Regions from separate parts of the Homo sapiens genome. Here region 1 is linked to region 2. Evidence: promoter capture Hi-C in human tissues and cell types (Jung and others, 2019). All regions are on one chromosome and are shown on one strand. The core of a region is centred on a gene start or on the middle of the fragment in contact, and the rest is flanking DNA. Distances in the headings are between cores, read along the strand shown.

Region 1 (6,363 bases), core at 1,253-3,752, 260 kb after region 2:
CGTGCCACTACACTCCAGCCTGGGCGACAAGAGCAAGACTCCATCTCAAAAAATAAAAATAAAAAAATTGGCTGGGTACAGTAGCTCACGCCTGTAATCCCAGCACTTTGGGAGGCCGAGGCAGGCGGATCATGAGGTCAGGAGTTTGAGACCAGCCTAACCAACATGGTGAAACCCCATCTCTAATAAAAATACAAAAATTAGCTGGGCGTGGTGGCAGGCGCCTGTAACCCCAGCTACTCAGGAGGCTGAGGCAGGAGAGTCACTTGAACCCAGGAGGTGGCGGTGGCAGTGAGGTGAGATTGCGCCAGTGCACTCCAGCCTGGGCCACAGAGTGAGACTCCGTCTAAAAAATAAATAAATAAATAAATAAATAAATAAACCATACTACAAGTCACATTGAATTTAAAGAGAAATTCTTTAACACCTGTGGAAAGGGGGAAAATAAAAAGAAAAAAGAATTGAAAGATAAATTCAAAGAGGAAACAGGCTGTCGCTGAGGACAAAGCAGCCGGCTCGCTGGCCGGGGGTGGTGGCTCATGCCTGTAATCCCAGCACTTTGGGAGGCCGAGGAGGGCGGATCACCTGAGGTCAGGAGTTCGAGACCAGCCTGACCAACATGGAGAAACCCCATCTCTACTAACAATACAAAATTAGCCGGGCATAGTGGCACATGCCTGTAATCCCAGCTACTAGGGAGGCTGAGGCAGAAGCATCGTTTCAACCTGGGAGGTGGAGGTTGCGGTGAGCCCAGATCACACCCCTGCACTCCAGCCTGGGCAACAAGAGCGAAACTCCGTCGCAAAAAAAAAAAAAAAAAAAAAAAGCAGCTGGCTCGTTGCCAGGAGGCTGAAGGACACTCACACTGGTGATCTCCTGGCTTGAAGAACAGAGAATGTTGTCTGGGTGTGTGTCAGGGGGTTAAGTGTGCAGGAGCCACGTCTACATCTATACATGGCTGTAGCTGAAATTAGTTTCACGCAAGTTTATTTGCAGATCAGAGCAAGGAAGAAAAGCTCTCCAGTGAAGTGGATTTTAGCTACATTGTTGCTGCCTATGGATCAAACCCTAGTCTGAAGGCCATGACTGCTGAGTGCAACCTCTGTGATGAGAAATCTTACTCATGATGTGTGTGTGACAGGAAACCATAGCTGTTAAAACCTCTGTCCTGAGGCACTCCAGGTGCGTCACTGCACCTGAGTGATTGCTGGTGAATTCCCGACCCACGGACACACTGCCTTCAGTCTAGAGCTTCTGTGTGGGAGGGATGTGGCTTCGCTGCTGCTGAGAAAGCACCAAGCCCCTTTATTTTTTCTCCCAAAAGGGCTGCGAATGAAGTAGATTCATTTCTAAAATGCCCTGTACAGCCTCGAGGTTTTTGATAATTTATGGAGTGATATGATCCTATTAAACGGGAGTCTGCGGCTGTTTGATCTAGCTGGTAGCTCTAAACCTGTGGAGAGAAAAGAAAGGTCTGGCAGGTCAGACACAAAGATCTAATGTGTGGTGTCAGGGTGGGGCTTTATGGGTAATTTTTATTTTATGTTTTGCTTATTTGCATTTTCTACTGTCCCTATAAAGAGACTGTATTGCTTGAGAAATAAACTAAGAGCAGCATTTGGGAGTGCCAGTGTCTCTGTTGCTTAATGCAGAAAAAATAAGCACTGCAGAATAACTTTACTGGCTTCAAAAAGGGGGAAATATCCAACTTGTCACGAAACACAGGAATGGAATTGCTGCTGGTCTCCACGCAGACCTTGGTTTGGTGAACATCCCAGGAAGTGAACTTTGGGGGACCTCTGTGGTACCAACACGTGGGTGTCCCAGTGGGCGATGGAGGTCTTACCAATGGGCTGGACTCACCTTCTTAATGAGGTCTTGTCCATTGGTGCAGACATCATTCACGCGATCCTTGTGGACGGTGAAGTCTGTCTCAAAAGCTTCATGTTTCTTCAGTAAGCCCTGGAGTAGAAGCAGCCAAGGCACACTATTGAGAGCCTGCTATGTGTTGTGGGCTAGGCCCCGGGGACAGAGAGTGACAAAACTGCTATGGTCCCTGTCCATGCACACATTACAGTCTAGCTGGGGAAGAGGATAATAAAGAGGAACATTAATAAATAGAGAATCATAAAAGGAAGGAAAACAGGAGGCAGTGAGGCAGTGAGAGTAACCAGCAGTGGTGGGACAGGCTTCAGCAGGGACAGTCTTTGGACCTTTGGGAAGGGTCAAACCCTTTGTCATCCATCAACAGTGACTTATGGTCTCTCCCCCAAGAGGACCACAAGAATGACACAAAGCAAGCTGAAGATATACACCCAAACAAAAACGACACATTTTTAAGGTTTAACTTGAACACATCTCAGAAAAGGCCTTCCAAGTCATGTCTTTTTTTTTTCTTTTTGAGACGGAGTTCTTGCTCTATTGCCCAGGCTGGAGTGCAGCAGCGTGATCTTGGCTCACTGCAACCTCTGCCTCCCAGGTTCAAGCGATTCTCCTGCCTCAGCCTCCCAAGTAGCTGGGATTACAGGTGTGCACCACCACACCCAGCTAATTTTTGTAGTTTTTAGTACAGACGGGGTTTCACCATGTTGGCCAGGTTGGTCTCGGACTCCTGACCTCAGGTGATCTGCCCACCTTGGCCTCCCAAAGTGCTGGGATTACAGGTGTGAGCCACCGCACCTGGCCCCAGGTCTTTTCCTTAGTACAATTTAAGCACTGCAGACCATGCCTTTTTGGTTGCTTCCAGGGAACTCAACTATGCAGAGGATGGGAAATGACTGACCATCTAAATTCTACCTGAATCACCCTGACCAGCGGGAGGATGCTTCCCATGGTGAGGAAGGTGGCTCAAAGCTAACTCGATTCCTGGGAGTGCACACTCCTGCTTCCACATCTGGGGGCAGGAATTTAGTCATATCTGACCATGATACTTTGCAGCATCTCCTTTCCAGAGGGGAATCTATCCACCTATGCCTCTGGGCTGCCTTGGGACTTGCTTTGGCCAGAAGGCAGTGAGGATGATGTGTGAGGCCGCAGACATCTTGCAGCTCCTGCCTTTGCCTGTCTGAATGCTGCTGAAGGAGGTTGGTCTAGCCAGCTTGAGGACAACAGGCCATGTGGAGGGGAACAGAGATGTCCAGGCTGGATGACAATCAGGCTCAGCTGCCAGTGTGTGATGGATCTCTCAGCCCAGCCACGCTCTGCCTGAATGCAGGAGCGTGAAGGACCTCCAGTGACAGCTGCAGATGCCGCTGATCCACAGATCCATTGGAAGTAAGAAATGGGTGCTGCTTTCAACCACTACATTTAGGCGGGTTGTTATGTAGCAACAGTTAACCAATTTAGGGAGTATGTGATGGGCTGAACTGTGTCCCCCTCAAGAGATGGTGAAGTCCTAACTTCTGGTACCCATGAATGTGGAAACAAGATCTTTGCAAATGTCCTCTGCAAAGGTAAGATGAGGTCATTAGCGTGGACCCTAATCCAATAGACCTGATGTCCCTACAACAGAACACAGAAATGTGAATAGACACACAGAGTGATGCCAAGTGAAGACAGACTCAGAGGGAAGATGGCTACGTGAAGACAGGCAGAGACTGGAGTGATGCTGCCACATGCCAAGGGCGCCTGGTGCCAGCAAAAACTGGAAGAGGCAAGGAAAGATCCTCCCCTACAGGTTTGCAGAACATGGTCCTGCCTGCTTCTTGATTTCAGACTTCTGGCCTCCAGAACTGAGAAGCAATAAATCTCTGTTGTCCTCAGCCACTCCATCTGTGCCACTCTGTCTGTGGTACTCCGTTCGTGCCACTCCGTTTGTGGTACTTATTTATGGCAGCCCCAGGAAACTGATATGAAGACTCAAGCCCACAGCGCTGCCTGGTGAATGACAGGGCCCGTGAACTGAGACTGACAAAGCCATACCAATTTTGTTTACTGAAGGGTGATGTCCCCTAGTGTGAGATCTTGAGGGCTAAAACCAACTACTGAGGCCTTGGCTGCTGGCCCTGTGTGCTCTCCTAGTAAGAGCAGGGCCCTCTAACAAACCAACAGGGAAATGATGACCAGCAGGCAGTTGCCAAGAGAGAAAGCAGGTGACACCTTTGGTTTCTGTCTCACCTGGATGGCGGCAAGAGTGTCGCCATAATCTTCGCTGGCCACCAGGGTCATTTTCTCATTGATCCAGGCTTCTTCCTCTTCCACATTGGCTACAAACTGCTGATATTCCAAGGACTCTTCCAGCCGCTGACCCCTAATTACAGGAGACAGGAAGAAAATCAGCCATAATCTCCTCCAGCTTTGATTGTGATAGTTAACATATGCTTAAAAACAGTCACAAAAGCTGGGCATGGTGGCTCATGCCTGCAATCCCAGCACTTTGGGAGGCCGAGGCGGGCAGATCACGAGATCAGGAGATCGAGACCATCCTGGCTAAGACGGTGAAACCCCGTCTCTACTAAAAATACAAAAAATTAGCTGGGCTTGGTGGCGGGTGCCTGTAGTCCCAGCTACTCGGGAGGCTGAGGCAGGAGAATGGCGTGAACCTGGGAGGCAGAGCTTGCAGTGAGCCGAGATTGTGCCACTGCACTCCAGCCTGGGTGACAGCAAGACCCCGTCTCAAAAACAAAAACAAAAACATTCACAAAAAAGGTGAGCCCTCACAGTCAGTCAGGCCGTCCATGGAACATCATGAATCACCCACTCTGTGATTCCAGACTCTCATGTCTTGATTTCTGGAGAATCATGTGTGATTCATGTGTGATTCATGTGTGATTCTGGACTCATACAGAAACATGTATGATTCTGGACTCATACAGTGGGTCCAGATGAACAGAATGAGACCACCTCAGCATGGCCTGTAGGAGGTGGCTCTGGAGCAAACCGACTATGGCACATGTGAGGCCAAAGGTCCAGGAGACAGTAGGAGGGCCCACTGGACCCCCACAGCTCAGAGTCTGCCCTTGGGTGCTGGCCTTCCACTTGTTCCCGGGAGCTCCTGCCTCTGACTACTCACCGGGCAGCTGCCAGCTGCTTCAGCTCTTTCCAGTGCTCCACAAACTGCGCCAGCCGCTGCTGGATCTCCTCTTTCCCGATGGTGTTGTCATCGGACAGCTTCTTGCCAGTGTCCAGGACACCCTGACAGGCAAGGACGAGGAGGTTAACAGCAGGTAGCTCTTCTGGTGCTTCTGTCTCGAAGCTCCCAGGAAAAGGCCTCAACATCAAGTTTGGGACTTCTCCAGGTTTGGACTGAGGGGTCATGAACACTTTAGGGACCTCAGTGAAATAAGCGCAAGGGGTTTGTCTGTCCCCTGGGGCCCACTCAAACACCTCTGCCCTCTTGGCCAGAAGGCGGCCTCCTTACCTGAATAGCCGGCTCATGCGCAGCCAGTTCTGCTTCCAGCCGCTTGTGCTTCTTCCTCAGGTTCTGCACGCCGGTTAGGTCCCGGCCGTAGTCCTCTGAGCCCACCAGCAGCTTCTTCTCCCTGAATGAGAGATGGGAAACAGCACAGTCAGTCTCTGCACCTCCCTGCTTTCAAGTGGGGACATCAGGTCAACTGTGGACCTCACAGACATCTACTAATCTTTCTGGGAAAATCCTTGCCAGTTTTCTGAACAACAAAAGCCTCTACTTCCCAAATGAGTAGGGACCAAGAACCTCTGTCCATCTATGCATCTATGAGCCCTGCTGTGTGTCCGGATTCTGGAGGGTTGGGGATGCACTGGAGGATGGGAGGCATCACTAGTGCTGCCCTGAGGAGCCCTATCAAATTATATCAATATATATCAATCATGTATACTAAATATGTATTAATATATCAATATATGTCTGTAAATATACAAAGATATTTATATATATACATATATACACACTTTTTTTTTTTTTGAGACAGAGTCTCATTCTGTTGCCCAGGCTAAAGTGCAATGGCATGATCTCTGCTTACTGCAACCTCCGCCACTCCGGTTCAAGTGATCCTCCCACCTCAGCCTCCGGAGTAGCTGGGACCACAGGTGTGCGCCACTATGCCTGGCTAATTTTTTCTATTTTTGGTAGAGATGAGTTTTCACCATGTTGCCCAGGCTGGTCTCAAACTCTTGGATTCAAGTGATCTGCCCACCTCGGTCTCCCAAAGTGTTGGGATTATAGGCGTGAGCCACCACACCCAGCTATATAAGTAATATATATATTTTTTGAGACAAAGTCTTGCTCTGTCGCCTAGGATGGAGTGCAGTGGCACGATCTTGGCTCACTGAAATCTCCACTTCCCAGGTTCAAATCATTCTCCTGCCTCAGCCTCCTGAGTAGCTGGGATTACAGGCACGTGCCACCATGCCCAGCTAATTTTTATATTTTTATTTTTTATTTTT
Region 2 (6,482 bases), core at 937-3,436:
GCCCATCAGTGTGTGCCTCAGTTTCTCCATGTGAAAACCTGGAATCAGCTCTACTCTAAGACGAGGCAGTCAGGAACCAGGCTGATTTCCCTCCAACTCCTACAGGCAAGGTCCAGGCCAAGCCAGGCAGCAACCCAGGGTCCGGCCACTTCCCTGAGTTCTGACCCACGGCAGTGATCCCCAGGATTCCCTACAGTCCAGAAAGGTCATTCAAGAGTTTGCAAAGGAAACGGCTTCCTGGTGGGTGTGCCTAAGGGATGGAGAACCACCACATCTAGTCAAGTTCTGGGGGGAAGTCATGAACATTTCCTGTGCCCCCGCTCTGTTTTTTTTTTTGTTTTTTTGAGATGGAATTTTGCTCTTCTTGCCCAAGCTGGAGTGCAATGGCGCGATCTTGGCTCACTGCAACCTCTGCCTGCTGGGTTCAAGCAATTCTCCTGCCTCAGCCTCCCGAATAGCTGGGATTACGGGTGCGCAGCCCCATGCCTGGCTAATTTTTTGTATTTTTAGTAGAGACAAGGTTTCACTATGTTGGCCAGGCTGGTCTCGAACTCCTGACCTCGTGATCTGCCCGCTTCAGCCTCCCAACGTGCTGGGATTACAGGCGTGAGCCACCACGCCCGGCCCTGCACCCCCTGCTCTGTACCCTATGGTCCCTAGAACGCAGAGGGCATCAGACCCCATGCCAAAGCCCTGAGACCAGGAAAACAAGGAAGCAGAGACCAGCCACCCAGTCACTCATCCCTGGCATGTCCACAACAGCCTCCTCCAGCACAGGTCATCTGTCCTTGCCTCACTTCATGAGCCAGAGGAAGACTTGACCTTCATGGAAGCAACACCAGTGAGACTGAGCAATCAGCACTGCCCAGTCTCTCTGAACAAACTCCCACTCCCACATCCCCTCCACAGGAAGTATCAGCAACAGCCGATCTCCTCCCGCTTCTTACAGCCTGTCTGTCTGCCAGGTTGTCTGCTCCAAAGGGCAGAATACAGTTTGGCAGGGGTTAAGAGTACTACTAACAGAAGAGGTGGAAGAGGTCCTTGGGAACTTCGGGCTCCCCCAGTTCCCTTCCTCTTACCAGGTGCTCTCCCTCCACACCTCATTCTCAAAAGGCTTCCTGAGGTAGGGCAGGGGAAGAGGAGTCAGTGGAAGTGTGGCTCACCCAGGAACCGCCCACCCTTCCAGCCAAGTCTCCATCAGGAGGCGGCTACCAGACAACCCCCGACCCATCCCTCCTTCCCAAAAAAGGCAACAATCGCAACAGCTGAGAACCGGCAGACCTCGGTTCACCCCGGTCCAGATCAAGGGGAAGAAGCAGTCAGCGAAAGCAGCAGAATCATCATGAACTCCATGACCCCAGCTATGCCCCTTCAGCCTGGGAGCTCAGTTTGCTGGGTATCCAGCTCACCTAGGGCTGCACCAGGCCTGGACCTCACTGGATCTCGCCTCGCCCTCGGGCCCACCTGAATGCACAGGACTGGGACAGGGTCTGGGTTCTTAGATTCCGGACCGGTCTTCCCAAATATCCCATCCCAGAAAGGCCCCAAGAGCCTAGCCGGGGATCCTGCCCCCAAGTCAGGGCACTGCCCCCATCGGAACGATAGGAAGGAGGGGTGCAAGGGAAGAGAAGGGGACCAGGAACTCAGGAGAAGACAGCTAAGGAAATCTTTGAAAAAGAAATGGCAAGGAGAGAGCCCAGAGGTGGAACCTCTAGGAACGGGAGAGTGTGTGTGGAGGGGTGAGGATCTGGGGGGACCCAGGGGATGACAAGGGGACATGGGGGAGCCGAGGCGGAAACTCCTGGTTTCTGAAGCACAAGGAGGCACAGGGGTGCCTGGGAGGGGGCTCGCGCGCCGCGGAGCCGGCGAGAAGGTGGTGCCCCGGAGACTCCGGGCACTGGGGAGCCCAGAGGTAGGCCGAACACCGCGGGAGGTCCCCAGGGGGCCGGCCCGGAGACAGAGCCCCAGATGCCCCGGGCGCCCCGGGCCGGGCAGCTGGCCGAGGGCGTGTGTAAGTGGGTTTCGAGAGGTGACAGCTCGCGCCCCTTTCCCCACCCCGTCCACTCACCTGGGCTCGCCGCGCCCGGCCGCCCGGCAGGCAGCCCCAGGCCCCGGCCGCTCCGTCCCGCCGCCGGCCGCAGCGCTGCTCCGGCGCCTCCTTTTGTTTGTCCCTCACTGCACCACTCAGCCTCCTCCGCCCCGGAAGTGACGTCACCGCCGGGCGCGAACGCGGCGGCCAGGGCGTCGCCATCTTTATGAGGAGAATTCTAGCGGCGCTTTCTCCCGCTCTCGCCTCCGCGCTAGCGCCCTGCTGCTTCGGGGCGGAAGTAGCGGAGCCGGGCTCGGCCCCCTTAAAGGGACAGGGACTGCTGCAACCTACGGGGTGTACTTGGGAACGAGGGGTGAAGCGGCCCAGGTGAGGGTGAGTAGCTGTGTCGGAGCGCCACTTCCCCAAGGTCAGGTGCCGAGGCTGGGAGGGTCGGCTAACGGTTCCGAGCTTGGTTGTGCTAGAGTGCTTAATGAGTTTGATGCTACTAAGTATAACGGAGTGGCTGCACAGAATGATTGAGCCGCCCGCGGGAATCAACTGCGCGTGCTGCTCGCTGATTCTCGCTCGGACACTGGGGCTGGTCCTGTCTGCACCCAAATCCCCCTCCCACGACCGCGCCGGTGGAGATGATACCCGAGACAACAGAATTCTGGACAGATCTGGGGTTGGAATTGGGTCCCCAGACTCCAACTCTGCAGCTCCATAAATCCCGCTGGGTCCTCGCAAATTCCCTGGCTGATAACAGTACCGGCAACCAAATTAAAAAATAATCCATACAGTGGAATACTGTGCAGCCATTAAGACGAACAATGTTTAATATGCACTAATGTAGGGTGACTTCTAAGATACCTTAGGTTAAAAAAGGAAACAACAGTAAAAACAGCGTTGGGCCGGTTGCGGTGGCTCACGTCTGTAATCCCAGCACTTTGGGAGGCCGAGGCGGGCGGATCACGAGGTCAGGAGATCGAGACCATCCTGGCTAACTTGGTGAAACCTCATCTCTACTAAAAATACAAAAAAATCAGCCGGGCGTGGTGGTGGGCGCCTGTAGTCCCAGCTACTCTGGAGGCTGAGGCAGGAGAATGGCATGAACTCGGGAGGTGGAGCTTGCAGTGAGCCGAGATCGCGCCGCTGCACTCCAGCCTGGGCGACAGAGCGAGACTCCGTCTAAAAAAAGAAAAAACAGCGTTGATGGGTGCTATCCATCTTTGCGTAGAAGGACGCCTGAGGGTGGGCGTATCTGCGGGTGTGCGCGCCAGCTGTCTGATAAGATGCACAAGAAGTTGTTAATTGCGGTTGTCTCCGACAGAATTGGGGTCTTGGGTACCTGGGCCAGGGCGAGAAATTTACTACCATGTGCACAGATAGATAATTAAAAATAAGATGATGAAGATAGTCGTGGCTCCCATCCATCACGTGTTAAGCCAATGCCTAGTTTCACTTCTGTTGGGAGGTCTTATTTTTCCCTTTTAATAGAAGAGAAAAGAACCTTAGAGAGGTTAGGAAACTTAGCAATATCATAGCCAGGGCCGGGCGCGGTGGTTCACACCTGTAATCCCAGCACTTTGGGAGGCTGAGGCGGGCGGATCACGAGGTCAGTAGATCGAGACCATCCTGGCTAACACGGTGAAACCCCGTCTCTACTAAAAATACAAAAAAATTAGCCGGGTGTGGTGGCGAGCGCCTGTGGTCCCAGCTACTCGGGAGGCTGAGGCAGGAGAATGGCATGAACCTGGGAGGCAGAGCTTGCAGTGAGCTGAGATTGGGCCACTGCACTTCAGCCTGGGCAACAGAGCAAGACTCCGTCTAAAAAAAAAAAAAAATCATAGCCAGGAAGTGGAGAAGCTGGAATTTGAACCCTGGGAGATTTACACTAATGCCCATGATCTAGCTTATCCCTCGCCACTGAGATGCTTTTTCTGTTGTCAGTCACGCAACACCCGTCTTGGGGCCTGGCACACAACAGGCATCCAGTAACTATTTATTGACATGATGTGTGGTGTGAAAAGCAAACGTTGAAGGTCAGAGCCCAGGCTTAAAGTCCAGGGCTTGGGCACCTCTTTCCAACCTGTGGACTGTGGGCCTGCCAGGTACTCCGTGGGCCTCCATGTCCCCGCCTGTAAAATGAACAACCAGAACCACAGTTGTAGACAGTGAATGTTCCCACGTATTATACTTTGTATTTTACACGCAGATAAGTCTCATTTTACAGATAAGTGAGGCACAGAGAGATTAAGAAAGTTGCCAGAAGGGGGTTCCTACAGGTCTCCCTCCCTCCCTAGGAAGGCTGCTGGGCTCCCAGGCCTCTCCCTTAGCTTCCCAGGATCATCTGTGCTAATGCCTGGGGGACCTACTCTGTGCTGGGTGAGCTGCCAGAGGCTGAGGATCTGGTGGAGAACAGGTCAAGCACATAGTTCCTGTCCTTGGAGTTGAGCGCCCCCGTGCTGAGTACTTTGAGGGCGGAAGCCCAGGTCTTGGGACCACCTGGGAGGGGACATGTGGCTTAGCCTGGGTGGAGTCAGAAGGGGCTTCTCCAAGGAAGGGACTTTCAATGTGACTGGAAACTAGGATGTCCAGAAGGAGAAATGATGAGGCTGGAGACTCAAGGAGAGATGGGCTCCTACCCTGGACTTGGCCTTGGTGTCCACTAAGAAACTGAGGGTGACCAACAGGATTGGAGAATATACAAGTTAGACCCATTCAGTCTGGCTTCAGCAGGAATCTTTCCTCCCGGAGAATGCCTCCATTAGGTGCCAACCACCAGAACGCCACACTAACCTCTCCAAGCTCCAAAGAGTAGGGCGCCTGATTTTATAATCCAGGTGGGGGCGATAAAGGAATGCAGGAGCCTTCACAGCCATGAGGCAGTCACTGTAACTCCTGCCAGAACAGACCTGGGGCCACATCCCACTCCTGGATGGCACTGCCAGTTCCCTGCATAATTCCTTTTTTTTTTTTTGAGACGGAGTCTCACTCTGTCGCCCAGGCTGGAGTGCAGTGGTGCAATCTCGGCTCACTGCAAGCTCCACCTCCCGGGTTCACTCCATTCTCCTGCCTCAGCCTCCCAAGTAGCTGGGACTACAGGCACCCGCCACCACGCCTGGCTAATTTTTTGTATTTTTAGTAGAGACGGGGTTTCACCGTGTTAGCCAGGATGGTCTCTATCTCCTGACCTTGTGATCCGCCCACCTCGGCCTCCCAAAGTGCTGGGATTACAGGCGTGAGCCACCGCGCCCGGCCTCCCGGCATAATTTTTAAAATGCTCATCCTATGCCCTCATTCCCCAGCTTGCAGCTGGGGGCCTCCTGGTGCTTTTCTGGGACTTCGAGTAAGTCATTTCCCCTCTCTAAGCCTCAGTTTCCCCACCTGTAAAGCTGATGCCACCTCCTCCAAGGCTCCCGCGAGGCTATCTGCCTATCTGTTGTGTGTTCCTTTAATGTATGGGAGTGAGATTGTGGTTTTTGAATCTGGGTCCTGTGCCAGGAGGAATAAGTGGTGAGATACCTACTGTTTGTGTCACTCAGGTCTTCCACCAACCCCTCCAGCCTGTAAACCTGCCGTCTGGACTCCAGAAGTCATTTCTCTCTCCTCTGCCAATTCCTAAGCCCAGGGGGACTGTGTCTGAGTGACGCAATTGTTAGATCTCCTCAGACAGGCTGTTCTCTCCAGGAAAACATTGGCTCAACAAATTGTCACCAAACATTTGTCTTCAGGGAATTCTGTTTTTTTTCTATCAAAAAAAATTTGGATTCATTATATAATAAGAGATTTTTCATTTTGCTTGGTTACTAATTTTATGGAAAGCCTGGTAGGTTTAAATGTTAATAGCTTGTTGACTGGGTGTGGTGGTTCATGCCTATAATCCCAGTAATTTGGAAGGCTGAGGTGGGACTATCGCTTGAGCTCAGGAGTTCGAGACCAACCTGGGCAACGTGGTAAAACCCCATCTCTATCAAAAATACAAAAATTAGCTGGGTGTGGTGGCACGTGCCTGTGGTCCCAGCTACTCTGGAGGCTGAGGTACAAGAATCGCTTGAAACTGGGAGGCAGAGGTTGCAGTGAGCCGAGATTGTGCCACTGCACTCCAGCCTGGGCGATAGAGCAAGACTGTCTCAAAAAAAAAAAAAAGTTAATAGCTTGTTGTCATTGACAAGTGGCTGTGAGCCAGGACCCACAGTATATTCTCTGTGGATTCTTGTCACCTTCATTGTACAGATGAGGAAGCTGAGCCCCCAAGAGGCTGCGGCCTGGCATGACCAAGGTCCCATAGCTAGTTTATGGTGGAGCTGGGACTATTTGATCCAAGTCCAAGGTTTGGTCTTCTGTGGTTATTCATGCACTAGACTGGTCTTCCTGGGCATGGTATCCCCAGTTCTGTACCCTTTCTCTAGAGGTGCCACGATGTGTGTTGTCTCAGTAACTGGGAGTCTCC

What was found. Contacts are between HindIII fragments. The study calls those that stand out against the background at their distance.
Region 1: a contact is called between a fragment that was not itself captured here and the fragment with the promoter of LRRC8A in region 2, in 2 of the 25 tissues and cell types used here (dorsolateral prefrontal cortex and spleen).

The regions. Positions count from the first base shown.
Region 1 is chr9:128,616,757-128,623,119 of GRCh38, reverse strand. It overlaps SPTAN1 (spectrin alpha, non-erythrocytic 1), which reads right to left. Exons shown (of 57, transcript NM_001130438.3): 42 at 5,360-5,480; 43 at 5,012-5,133; 44 at 4,117-4,249; 45 at 1,864-1,962. Among named protein-coding and RNA genes, the nearest start is that of DYNC2I2, 37 kb to the left of the region's middle. The HindIII fragment of the contact is 5,892 bases long and covers 1-5,448 here.
Region 2 is chr9:128,877,837-128,884,318 of GRCh38, reverse strand. It overlaps LRRC8A (leucine rich repeat containing 8 VRAC subunit A), which reads right to left and starts at 2,186. Exons shown (of 4, transcript NM_019594.4): 1 at 2,069-2,186. KYAT1-SPOUT1 (KYAT1-SPOUT1 readthrough) reads left to right here and starts at 2,369. Exons shown (of 25, transcript NR_182311.1): 1 at 2,369-2,422. It overlaps KYAT1 (kynurenine aminotransferase 1), which reads left to right and starts at 2,369. Exons shown (of 13, transcript NM_004059.5): 1 at 2,369-2,422. RefSeq lists a silencer at 1,840-2,119 and an enhancer at 2,150-2,299. The HindIII fragment of the contact is 17,929 bases long and covers 1-6,482 here.